3 separate regions of the Homo sapiens genome follow, and regions 1 and 2 are each linked to region 3. The links are contacts of gene promoters, found by promoter capture Hi-C in human tissues and cell types (Jung and others, 2019). All regions are on one chromosome and are shown on one strand. The core of a region is centred on a gene start or on the middle of the fragment in contact, and the rest is flanking DNA. Distances in the headings are between cores, read along the strand shown.

Region 1 (3,469 bases), core at 312-2,811, 520 kb before region 3:
CTTCAGTAAGCAAACAGGCCTTGAGCTGCCCCTGCAAGCATGCAGTACTGGTGTTAAGTCCACTGCTCAACTGGCTTATCCCTGTGGATTGGAAGGTCCATCGAGAAATCAACAGGAATGGAGATATGGAGGAATGGGAGAAACACAAAATGAGCCTCATTTAGGACTCTTTCTTTTACGTTTATGAAAATTTCAAACATACAGAAAAATGGAAAGGAAAGGATATCATCCTTACACCTAAGAAAAAGAACCATCCTTCTTGGGCATCAGCTAATACTGAGTCATATCCCAATTTCTCTGGTTGTCCAAAACATGTCTTTTAGAGCTGGTGTTCACAAATCAGGACCCCAAGAAGGCCCACATCCTGTATTTGGTTGTTTTTAAGGTTCTTAATCTATTGTATCTTCCCTTTTTTTACTCCTGACACTACCTTGTTGAAGAGACCACACAGTTGTCCTCTCACTGTGTCTTAAAGTACAGAAATATCACATACCAAAAAAATTATATAAAAATTAGGCAAAAAATTTAGCTCTACAAGTAAATTATAACCAGACTGTTCTTAATTCACCAACAATTAACACACTGATTTCATTTGGGACTTAAAAATATTCTTTTTTTAAAATTTCAGAGACAAGGTCTTGCTATGTTGCCCAGGCTGGCCTCCTGGGCTCAACTGATCTTCCCACCTCAGCCTCCCATGTAGCTGGGATCACAGATGTGTGGTGCCACCTAACTGGCTTGTACTTTTTTTTTTTTTTTTGAGACGGGAGTCTCACTCTATCGCCTAAGCTGGAGTGCAGTGGCGCCACCTCAGCTTACTGCAACCTCTGCCTCCTGGGTTCAAGCGATTCTCCTGCCTCAGCCTCCCAAGTAGCTGGGATTACAGATGCCCACCACCACGCCTGGCTACTTTTTGTATTTTTAGTAGAGATGGGGTTTCACCATGTTGGCCAAGCTGGTCTTGAACTCCTGACCTAAAGAGACCGGCACACCTCAGCCTCCCAAAGTGCTGAGATTACAGGCATGAGCCACCACGCCCAGCCTGGCATGTATTTTTAATAGTGTCTTTTGCACTACACCTGACCATATGTCAAAACAGGATGGTTGGAAACTATATGGCAAATTTAAAATTTGTTCTGTTATTTGTCTACCTCTGGATGGAGGACAAATGCACAGTTTAATGAGCTCTACATATTGTTTACAACATGCATCTCAAAAGCCATTCTGAGGGTGAATCAACAGTGGAATGGAAAATGTCTTATGTCCCTGTCTCTGTCTTTCCCCATGGAATTCTGTATATTTGTCTGGGACTAGCTTAGTTTTGCAAAGTACTTACAAATACAGGGGCACACTTAATTTCCTCCTCTCCCAGGCTGGTGTTCAATGAGCCATGAGAGTTAGATGTGAACTGCAGGTGGCCCCCAAATCTGTCAGAAGCATCCTTCAGACTTTCCCAACCTCCCTGCCCAGTTCCCACTGGCAGGCAGGCACTGAGGATGGAGGGAGAGTACTTCGGAACCTCCCTTTAAAGCACAGAACAAAGCCATCGTGGTGGAAGCTGCCCCAAAAGTAATCTACGTTTTGTGTGATTTTGTTTTTCTAAGAGCCAAGAAAATTTTGAAAAACAGTAAAAATAAAGGGGCAATCTATATTGCCAGATACTGAAACATACTATAAAGCTAATTTCTTTACTTAAGTCCAGAAACAGACATAGGTGTATATCAAATTAGCATATAGAAGTCCCCCCTTATCCTCAGAGTTCAGGTTCCAACTCCCAGTGGATGCCTGAAACTTCAGATAGTACTGAATCCTATATATACTGTATTATTTCCTATACACACACCTATGATAAAGTTTAATTTATAAATTAGGTATAGTAAGAGATTAACATTAACTAATAATGAAATAGAACCATTACTAACAATACACTGTAATAAAAGCTACATGAATGTGGTCTCTCTCTCTCTCTCTCTAAACACCTTATTGTACTGCACTCACTTATTTTGTGATTGCTGGTAAGTGAAACCCCAGAAAGTGAAACCCCAGATAAGAGAGGACGATTGTCTCCTAAAGGTGGTGCTTTACATTCAAGAGTGGTGAGGCATCTTTGATCCTTATCTTCCCTTTTATTTAAAAAAAAAAAAATTCACATGAACTAAAGTGAATAAAAATGGCTTAAAATGGAGAAAAAAATTTAAAAACTTTTAGGACATGAGGATGAGAAAGCCTTCTTAACATAAACACATAATGGAGTTTAAAAAGTGAAAAACTGCGAGCAAATTGGTTGATCTTTTATGCAAATGCTCTCAGGAAAGAAAGGATACTATCCCACTAAAAAATTGGGCAAAGAAAATGCAGACACCTCACAAAACACAAAGAAACGACAAATACAAAAATGTTCTACACCTTGGTGCTGAGGCAACACAAGGGAGGGAGGGATCGTTTCTCAATGACAATGAGGAGGAGCACAGGCACTGGACAGCCCAGGCAGAAGGATGCAGGCAGCCTCCTCTCTACCTCCCACTCAAAAATGAACTCAAGGTGGAGCAAACACTTCAACGTAAGAGTGACAATCGTACCATTCACAGAAGAAAACCGAGAATAAATCTTCACGACCTTGGATTAGGCAGTTTCTTACTACGTCACCAAAAGTGCAAGTGATAAAAGAAAAATAAACTGATTTCATAAAAAATTAAACTTTTATGCTTCAAAGGATACCATTACAAAATAATGAACTGTGAAAGTGGAAAGTGAAAGAGAAAATATTTGCAAATCATAGGTCTGATAAAGCACTTGCATCTAGAACATATTTTAAAAACTCTTACAACTCAGTAATAAAAAGACTAATAGCCCAATTAAAAAATAAGTGAAAGCTCTGAACAGTTATTTATGCAAAGAAGATACACGAATGGCCAATAAGCACATGAAAAGATGTTGAACCTTATTAGCCATTAGGGAAATGCAAGTTAAGACCACAGTGAGATACCACTTCACACCCACCACATGGCTATAATAAAAAGTCAAATGCTAACCAATAGCAACAGGGTGGCCAGGACGTGGAGAACCTGGAATCCTCATACATTGGTGTGGGAATGTAGAAGGCAGCAGCCACTCTGGAAAACAGTCTGGCAATTCCTCAAAAGGTCAAACATAAAATTACCACATGACCTCTGCAATTCCTATTTTAGGTATACAACCAAAAGAACTGAAAATGCACGTTCACACGAAAACTGTAAAAAATGTTCACAACAGCCTTTTACAAATAGCCAAAAAGTGGATACAATTCAAATGCCCATCAAGTGATGAAGGGAAAAACAAAACACGGTGTATAACCAAAACGGAATATTATTCAACCGTAAAAAGGGAAGTAACCACACATACTACAACATGAACTCCGAAAACATGCTTCGTAAAAGAAGCCAGTCACAAAAGACCACATATTCTGTGATTCAATTTCTAGGAAATGCCC
Region 2 (3,598 bases), core at 267-2,766, 640 kb after region 3:
CAGGACTTCTGGGAGCAAGGTTGGTCCCCTGGGAGTCCTGGGAGGGCTGAAAGGGGTTAAGTGTGAGTTAAAATGAGAGTGATGGACAAATGTCACTCTCCCAAGGGAGGCCCCCTTACTCCCTGTTTTATTTATTTATTTACTTATTTATTTTGAGACCGAGTCTTGCTTTGTTGCCCAGGCTGGAGTGCAGTGGCCAGGTAACAGCTCACTGCAGCTTTGAACTTCTGGGCTCAAGGGATCCTCCTGCCTCAGCCTCTTGAGTAGCTGGGACCACAGGCACGTGCCAACACGCCTGGCTAATTTTTTTTTTTTTTTTTTGCGACGGAGCTTTGTTCTTCTTGCCCAGGCTGGAGTGCAGTGGCGCAGTCTCGGCTCACTGCAACCTCCGCCTCCTTGATTCAAGCGATTCTCCTGCCTCAGCCTCCCGAGTAGCTGAGATTACAGGTATACGCCACCATGCCCGGCTAATTTTGTATTTTAGTAGAGACGGGGTTTCCTCATATTGGCCATGCTGTTCTCGAACTCCTGACCTCAGCTGATCTGCCTGCCTTGGCCTCTCAGTGTGCTGGGATTACAGGCGTGAGCCACCGCGCCCTGCCTAAACTAAAAAAAAATTTTTTTGTAGAGATAGGTTCTTGCTATGTTACCCAGGGTGGTCTCCAACTCCTGGGTTCAAGCGGTCCTCCCGCTTCCGCCTCCTAAAGTGTTTGGATTACAGGCGTGAGACATGGCGCCCGGCCTCTTACCTGTTTTAAATTGTCCTTTCTCTCCGCTGGCTCCTTGAGCCCCTTTCCTGCTTATTTTTCTCTCGTTAGAGTTTTTCACTACCTCACACATCATATATTTGCCTTATTTATTGAGTGTCTGTCTCCCCACCGTAGTATAAACTCCACGAGGGCAGGGATTCGTGCGTGTGGCTCACCGGCGGCTCTCCAGCGCCTGGACAGGGCTGACCCCCAGCAGGCGCTCTGTGAAGGTGTGCAGAGTGGGCGAAGGTGCATGCGCGGGCCGTGGGGCGGGGACAGGTGGAGGAGCCAGTCAGACCCAAGTGCAGCGGGACGAGGGCGAGGTTAATCTGAGCAAGAAAAGCGTAAATTCTGCTTATCTACAAATGTAAACAGTACTGTCGGCCAGACGCAGGGTCCGGGGCGGGTCGGCCCGGACTCAGGGTCTGCTTGGAGGCAGAGCTAGATTAGGGCGGGGTCGTCCTGTGGCCTACCATTCCCCGAGGCTGAGGGCCTTGGAGGGCGGGGCCAGTGAAGGGGGAGGGGACTTCCTGAGGTGTGACCAATCTAGAGAAAGGACTGGGCTGAGGGCGTGGTCAAACAAGCGACATCTAAAAATAAGGGGCGGGGCTAGAACCAGGGGGAGTTCGCCTGGGGCGGGGCCAGAGTGGGGCGGGACCAGTTAGGGGGCAGGGCCAACCTGGGCGGGGCCATGGCCGGGGACGTGGGCGGGACCAGGTCAGGGGCGGGGCCAGGCCAGGATCTCCGCTGTCCCGGGTCCTGGAGCTCTCTCGGCCCGGCAGGTTTCGCTCCCGCCCCTCCGGCCTTCCACAGCTGTCCTGGCCGCAGGGTGTTCAAGGCGGGACACACCAGGCTAGAGATCCGCGATCGGGCCCCGCCTCAGGTACTGCGCTCCAGGCCAGGCGGGCGCGGGTAAGCGCTCAGCTCCCGAGCCAGGCGGGCTTCCAGGGCACTTCCCCTAGGCTGCATTCCCAAAGGCTCCCGAGGGCGAGGGTGAGCAAAGCTGCGGGGACCTGTGTGTGCATGCGTGTGCGATTGCCTCTACGTGTGTGTACGTGTGTGTGCATGTGCGCACGGGTGTGTGTGCGTGTGTGCACGTCTGTGCACACCAGGGGAATTGCGTGCGTGGAGCTGGGCAGGTGCGTGTTTCAGGGTGTGTGTGCAAAGTTGGAGGCGTGTGCAAAAGCAGTCCCGTGTGGGAGGGAAACCTGCGTGTGTACATGTGTGTGATAGAGACAGTGCCTGTGAAATGTGGTGAAGGCTGTGTGTGTATGTCAGGGTGTCTGGGAGGAAAATGGGAGGGCAGGTGCAAGGAGACTCGGGGGTGGGCTGTAGGCCAGCAAGTCTGTGGCAAGCTGCGGGGTGCATGCGTGAATAGAACCGTGGGAGTGTAAGAATTGCAAATGTGTGTGTGTCTGTGTGGGTGGCCGTAAGGCTTCTGGGGGCCCTCAGTGTGAAGGGGTGGGGGTAGAGGAAAGTTTGGGGGTGCTGACTGCTCTTGGAAGGCTGAGCGTGGTCTGGGGCCATGGCTAATGACAGGGAAGCTGTTGGGGCTTGGCCTGGAGTAATTTGGGGGGAATATCAGCCTTCTCAATTTGAAGGCTGGGGAGCTGTGTGGGTGGGGCCAGGGGCTGCCCCTTACACTTGGTGGGTGGTGTCCCTGCTTCCCGAGGTGGGAGCTGCAACCTCACCAGTCACTCCTCGCCCCAGGCTCTGTGCACACCCCTGCCTGGTGACCTCCATTGGTGCTCCAGCGTGAACATGGTGCAAAGATACCAGTCTCCTGTCCGAGTCTACAAGTACCCGTTTGAGCTGGTCATGGCGGTGAGTGACTCCTGATTCTTGGGCCCCCATGTGACAGTTGGAGGGGCTTGAGATCAGCTATGGCGGTAGGAAGACGGAGCTCCTTAGACTCCCAGATCAGAAGGAATTAGTGAGTTACTCAGCTGACCTGGTGGGTTTAACTTCTATCCAGTGACCTCTCTGTCCAACCATCCTATCCTCGGCCCAGTGACCAAAACACAAAGTCTTTCTTCCTTCTCCTTGTTGAAGCTGACCTGCTCCCTTACTTTAGACTCTCCTGATAGAAAACAAAGGTATCAGGGGCCAAGCCACTGCTGTCATTTCATATAATGGCATATCACAGTGATAAATGGAATGGTGGTGATAATGACAACAGCTGTTTATTGAATGTTTACAGCACTGTCTTAACAGATGATGTTTCTTCCAATTCCCGATAGCTGTTATTTTCCCATGTAACCTCCATGAAACTGAGGCTTTGACAGGTGAAGGGATGACACTAAGTTCTGTATCTACGCAGAGGTGGAGTCGGGGCTGAGATCCCCACAAAGGAGACTCTAGAACCTCACATTTGACCACAGAGCCCTCCTTCTGCTCACAGACCCCCTTCCCTCCCCTTTAAGGAAGCTGACACTGGGACGAGAGAGAGAATGAGTGGGTAGGTTTGCTTTGTGATGTACTCTGTGTTGTGCAGCAAGTCAGTTGGAGGCCTAGAATTGGCTGCCAGATCCTTGGCCCCCAGGATCACTGGTCTTTTCACCCTGGGGGCAGAAGCTGGACATAGGTGGATGTGGAATTCCTTCTTGGCTGCATCCCTCTGCCTCTGAGCACTTCACTTCCCTGCTCAGTAACATGGGGACAATGCTACAAGGTTGCGGGGAGGAGTAAATGAGATAGTTCTTGGTGCTCCTTGCTGTGTGCCGGGCACACAGTAGGAGCTCACAAAATATGCTGTCGCTGTTATTACACCGAAGTCTTGTAAATTAATGTATTGAAAGTGTAAGAAACATTAGCATCCACCCCCATCTGTCCCACCCCAGCACTGACTG
Region 3 (3,577 bases), core at 879-3,378:
TGCGGTCGGCTGCAGGGCAGGGCTCCGGGCTGAAGCGCAGCGATTCCCGCCGCCGTGAGGGGGCGCTCTGCGGGCCTCGGCCTCGGCCCTTCCGGACGCCCGCACAGGTCGCCGGACCCAGAGAGTCGGCCCTTAATAGCCCCCTCCTGGAAGCGCTAGGTCCCGAAACTGGCCTTCCCCCGGGGCCCATCTCCCGGCTAATGTTTAACCCGGCCACACTCCACATTATCCACACTCAGGAGACCGGGGTGAGGTGAGGGTGGAGGCTGGGGGAGGTCACCTCCAAATCGCCAACTTCCGAGCCTTTGCTCCAGGCAAACGGCCTTCCTACATCCCTTCCAGGTATCAACCTACAGCTCCTGCGCACCTACTATGTGCCCATTTCCACAACAGGTCATGAGCACCTAATATGTGTTCATTAGACCAAAACATGAGCATCCATTACGAGTCCACACCTACTATGTGTGCATTCACCCACAACGTCCTGAGCACCTACTATGTGTGCATTCTCTTAAAATGCAATGAGCATCGATTGTGTGTCCACATAACCCATGAGCACCTGCTATGTGTCCATCTGGGCACCAGCCCATGAGCACCTACTATGTGTGCATTCTCTTAAAATGCAATGAGCATCGATTGTGTGTCCACATAACCCATGAGCACCTGCTATGTGTCCATCTGGGCACCAGCCCAGGAGCACCTACTATGTGCCAAGCCTTGTGCCTGCCATGGATGCCTTGTGATCAAGAGCCACGTGCTTCGGGCTCTGGCGGGGACCGCAGCATCAAATGCACGAATGAAGACGGACTTAAAACCAGCGTCAGATGCCTCACCTCTAGGGGATGCTGATTCTGGGATGCCTTTTTCGTCTCCTAGGCTCCTCAAGGCCAACTGCGCTGGGAAGAGGGGGTGTCCAACAGCAGGAGGGCTGTTTTTTTGAACTACAATTTGCCAGCATACAGCAGAGCAGCAAGAAGATAACAGGGCGGGGGGCACGGGATTAGCCCAAACAAAACACACTCAAGAACGCGAGTCTGTGGTTCAACACGAGGCAGAAAACAGCTGGGCCGGGTGCGGGGCTTCTCCCTCGCGTGTATCCGCTCACTGCACTCGCTGCCCTGGCCGCGGGCGCCGCGCAGGGTGCTGATGTCCAGGAGGGATCTAGACCTCCCGCGGCGCTCGGGCTAGTGGACGCAGGTGGTCCCAAATGCTGGGACCAAGCTAGGAACCAAGCGGAAGCTCGGATTGCTCGGCATCGGGCCTCGTCGTTATTCTACCGTGAGGGAAACTGAGACCGAGGGCACGGCAGGGAGTCGCCCGCCGTCTCACCAGCGTGAGGGGTTGCGCCGGGCCCCGAAAACTGGTTTGCGCCGCCCGGCATCGGGATCCGGGACCTCTGCCCGCCGGGCGCTGCCTGCGCGTTCCTGGAACTGGGCTGGGCGGAGAAATCAGGGCCCGCAGAGAGGCATTCCTGCCGCCTTCCCCGCCGCCCGGGGCCGCAGGGGGGCCTGGCCAAGGTGACCCCGCGGGAGGAGGCGAGGGGTCCCCGCCCGCTCCGCCGCCGCGACCTCCTCCATCTTCCCGGTCTGCGGGGCTTTTCCTCTGGGCCCGCGCGCCCGGCCCCCTCCTCGGGCTTCCCCGAGGGCGGGACGTCTCGGGCTCCCCCGCCCCCCCAGGCCACCTCCCGGCCGTGTCCTAGCGCTGCCCTCGGGCCGGGGGCGGGGCCGCGGGGGGGGGGTGGCGTGAGGATGGGGCCGAGGAGGACGCGCGCGGCTCGGCGCCCCACTTCCCTCCCTCACCCCTCCCTCCCGGTGCCCGCTCCCCGCGGCCGCGCCGCCCTCCCTTCCCCCTCCCTCGGCCCAGCGCCGGCTCCCGCCGCCCCCTCCCCCGACGCGCACGCCCCGCCTGGCAGCTGGCGCCCCGGGCCTGGGGCCGCAGCGGTGAGAGGGGTTTTGCTGGGAGGGAGGGAGCGAGCGAGCGAGGGGAGGGGTGGAGGCCGCCCCCCGCGCCCCTCCTCCTCGCCCTCCTCCGCGGCCGGCGGGCCCTCCTCCCGCCGCCTCCCTCCTCCCTCCTCCCGCCCGCCCGCCCTCCCTCTAAGACATCCCCGCACGGCCCGGCCGCCGCGGCCACCTTCCCTGCCCGAGCTGCAGATGTGGCGGAGCGGCCGGGCGCCGGGCGGCCGTGCCAGGGGAGCCCGCGCCCCGTGAGGCCTCGCGCCCCGGCCCCCGCCCGTCCCGGCCCCTCCCCCGCTCGGCTCCCCGCGCCCCCCGACCGCCGGAGCCCGCAGCCCGGATCCCGACCGCCCCCGCCGCTGAGGTAGGAAGCCCCCCGGGCGTCGCGCCGTGGGGACCGGGCCGGGGCGGGGGGGGGGGGGCCCGCCTGTCGCGCCGGGGCTGCGGGGCCCGAGGGTCTCCTCCCCCGCTCGCGTCCGCGCCCCGGGCCATTGTGAGCCCTCGCCGAGGCCCCCGCGTTCGCTCGCTCGCTGGCTCGCGCGCTCCCTCCCTCGCCGGCTCCCCGGCCGGGTCCCTCGAGCTCTCGGTCTTTCTTCTCCCTCCTTCCTTCCCTCCGTCTGGAGGCCGGGCCGAGCAGCGCCCGGGCCCGGGGCGGGCGCAAACTTCAGCTGGGAAGTTGGGCGGCCGCGGTGGGGGGCGTGCGGCGAGGTGAGAGGGGGGTACCCGGAGCCTGGGCATGAAGTTGTCCGGGGCAGCCGCCCCTCCTCTCGGCCGCGCCGGGGCTGCTGCTAGGAAGGGCTTTGGAAGGTGCCTCCTCCCTTGGCCGGGAGAGTCTCCCTCCTGCTGCCCCTCGCAAGCCCGGGTCCTTCCTTGGACCTCGGGAAGGGGCGTCCCTGGGGGGTCAGGACTGGGAGTTTGGGACAAGTCAGGCACTTGTTACTCCCCTGCGGTCCGGGTGGACGCAGGCGACCGGCCTGGCAGGGAGGAGATGGCAAGGGGTCCATACTCGCCGGAGGGCGGGTCTGGAGCGGGTGGAGGAGGGGGCGAGGCAGGTGCATCCCGAGGGAGGAGAAGCACGCACAGCTTCCCCGCTGGCCCCCTGGGATGGGGCTGGAATCCAGGCTGGCACCTGGAGGCCTTGGCATGCTGCCCTGCCCAGCAGGGTACTCGGGCCACAGCAGGGCAGCGTGCAGCCTGTCTGCCTGTCCAGGAGGGCCCGCCCAGCCTGGCCAGAGGGTGGCCGGGAAGCAATGGTTTCAAGGAGTTGCCCAGCCCTGCCCTGGGGCCTGGGAAGCTGGAAGGGATGCTGGGAGGGGCCCTGGGCCCCCAGCCATCACAGCCCAGGATCTTGGCTCTGGAGGGAACGCTTGACACTGAGGGGGCAGCCAGGCCGGCTGGGGACCTGGCCAAGGCCTGGGCTTGGTCTGGGCCATGGAAAGGGCCTGGGCCATGGTTCTTGGAGGCTGGCACCCTGGGTAGTAGGCCGCCATCCTGCGTGTCCTGGCATCCTGGAGGGAAGGTGGGGCCAGCCTGCGGCTGGGGAGGAAGCCCAGAGACACTGCGCTTCGGAGGGCCTTCCAGCCCCCGGGCTCAGGGGAGGGGAAACTGGCCCCTTGGGTCACCCC

Evidence for each region. Contacts are between HindIII fragments. The study calls those that stand out against the background at their distance.
Region 1: a fragment that was not itself captured here is called in contact with the fragment with the promoter of GLIS2 in region 3 in 1 of the 25 tissues and cell types used here (dorsolateral prefrontal cortex).
Region 2: the fragment with the promoter of SEC14L5 here is called in contact with the fragment with the promoter of GLIS2 in region 3 in 1 of the 25 tissues and cell types used here (lymphoblastoid cells).

What each region holds. Positions count from the first base shown.
Region 1 is chr16:3,795,644-3,799,112 of GRCh38, forward strand. All of the region lies in intron 3 of CREBBP (CREB binding lysine acetyltransferase), which reads right to left. Among named protein-coding and RNA genes, the nearest start is that of TRAP1, 80 kb to the left of the region's middle. The HindIII fragment of the contact is 6,810 bases long and covers 1-3,469 here.
Region 2 is chr16:4,956,814-4,960,411 of GRCh38, forward strand. SEC14L5 (SEC14 like lipid binding 5) reads left to right here and starts at 1,517. Exons shown (of 16, transcript NM_014692.2): 1 at 1,517-1,632; 2 at 2,460-2,573. The coding sequence starts at 2,511. RefSeq lists silencers at 1,402-1,611, 1,410-1,705 and an enhancer at 1,509-2,044. The HindIII fragment of the contact is 18,853 bases long and covers 1-3,598 here.
Region 3 is chr16:4,313,939-4,317,515 of GRCh38, forward strand. GLIS2 (GLIS family zinc finger 2) reads left to right here and starts at 2,129. Exons shown (of 7, transcript NM_032575.3): 1 at 2,129-2,316. RefSeq lists enhancers at 244-756, 757-1,269, 3,391-3,577 and a silencer at 670-964. The HindIII fragment of the contact is 26,266 bases long and covers 1-3,577 here.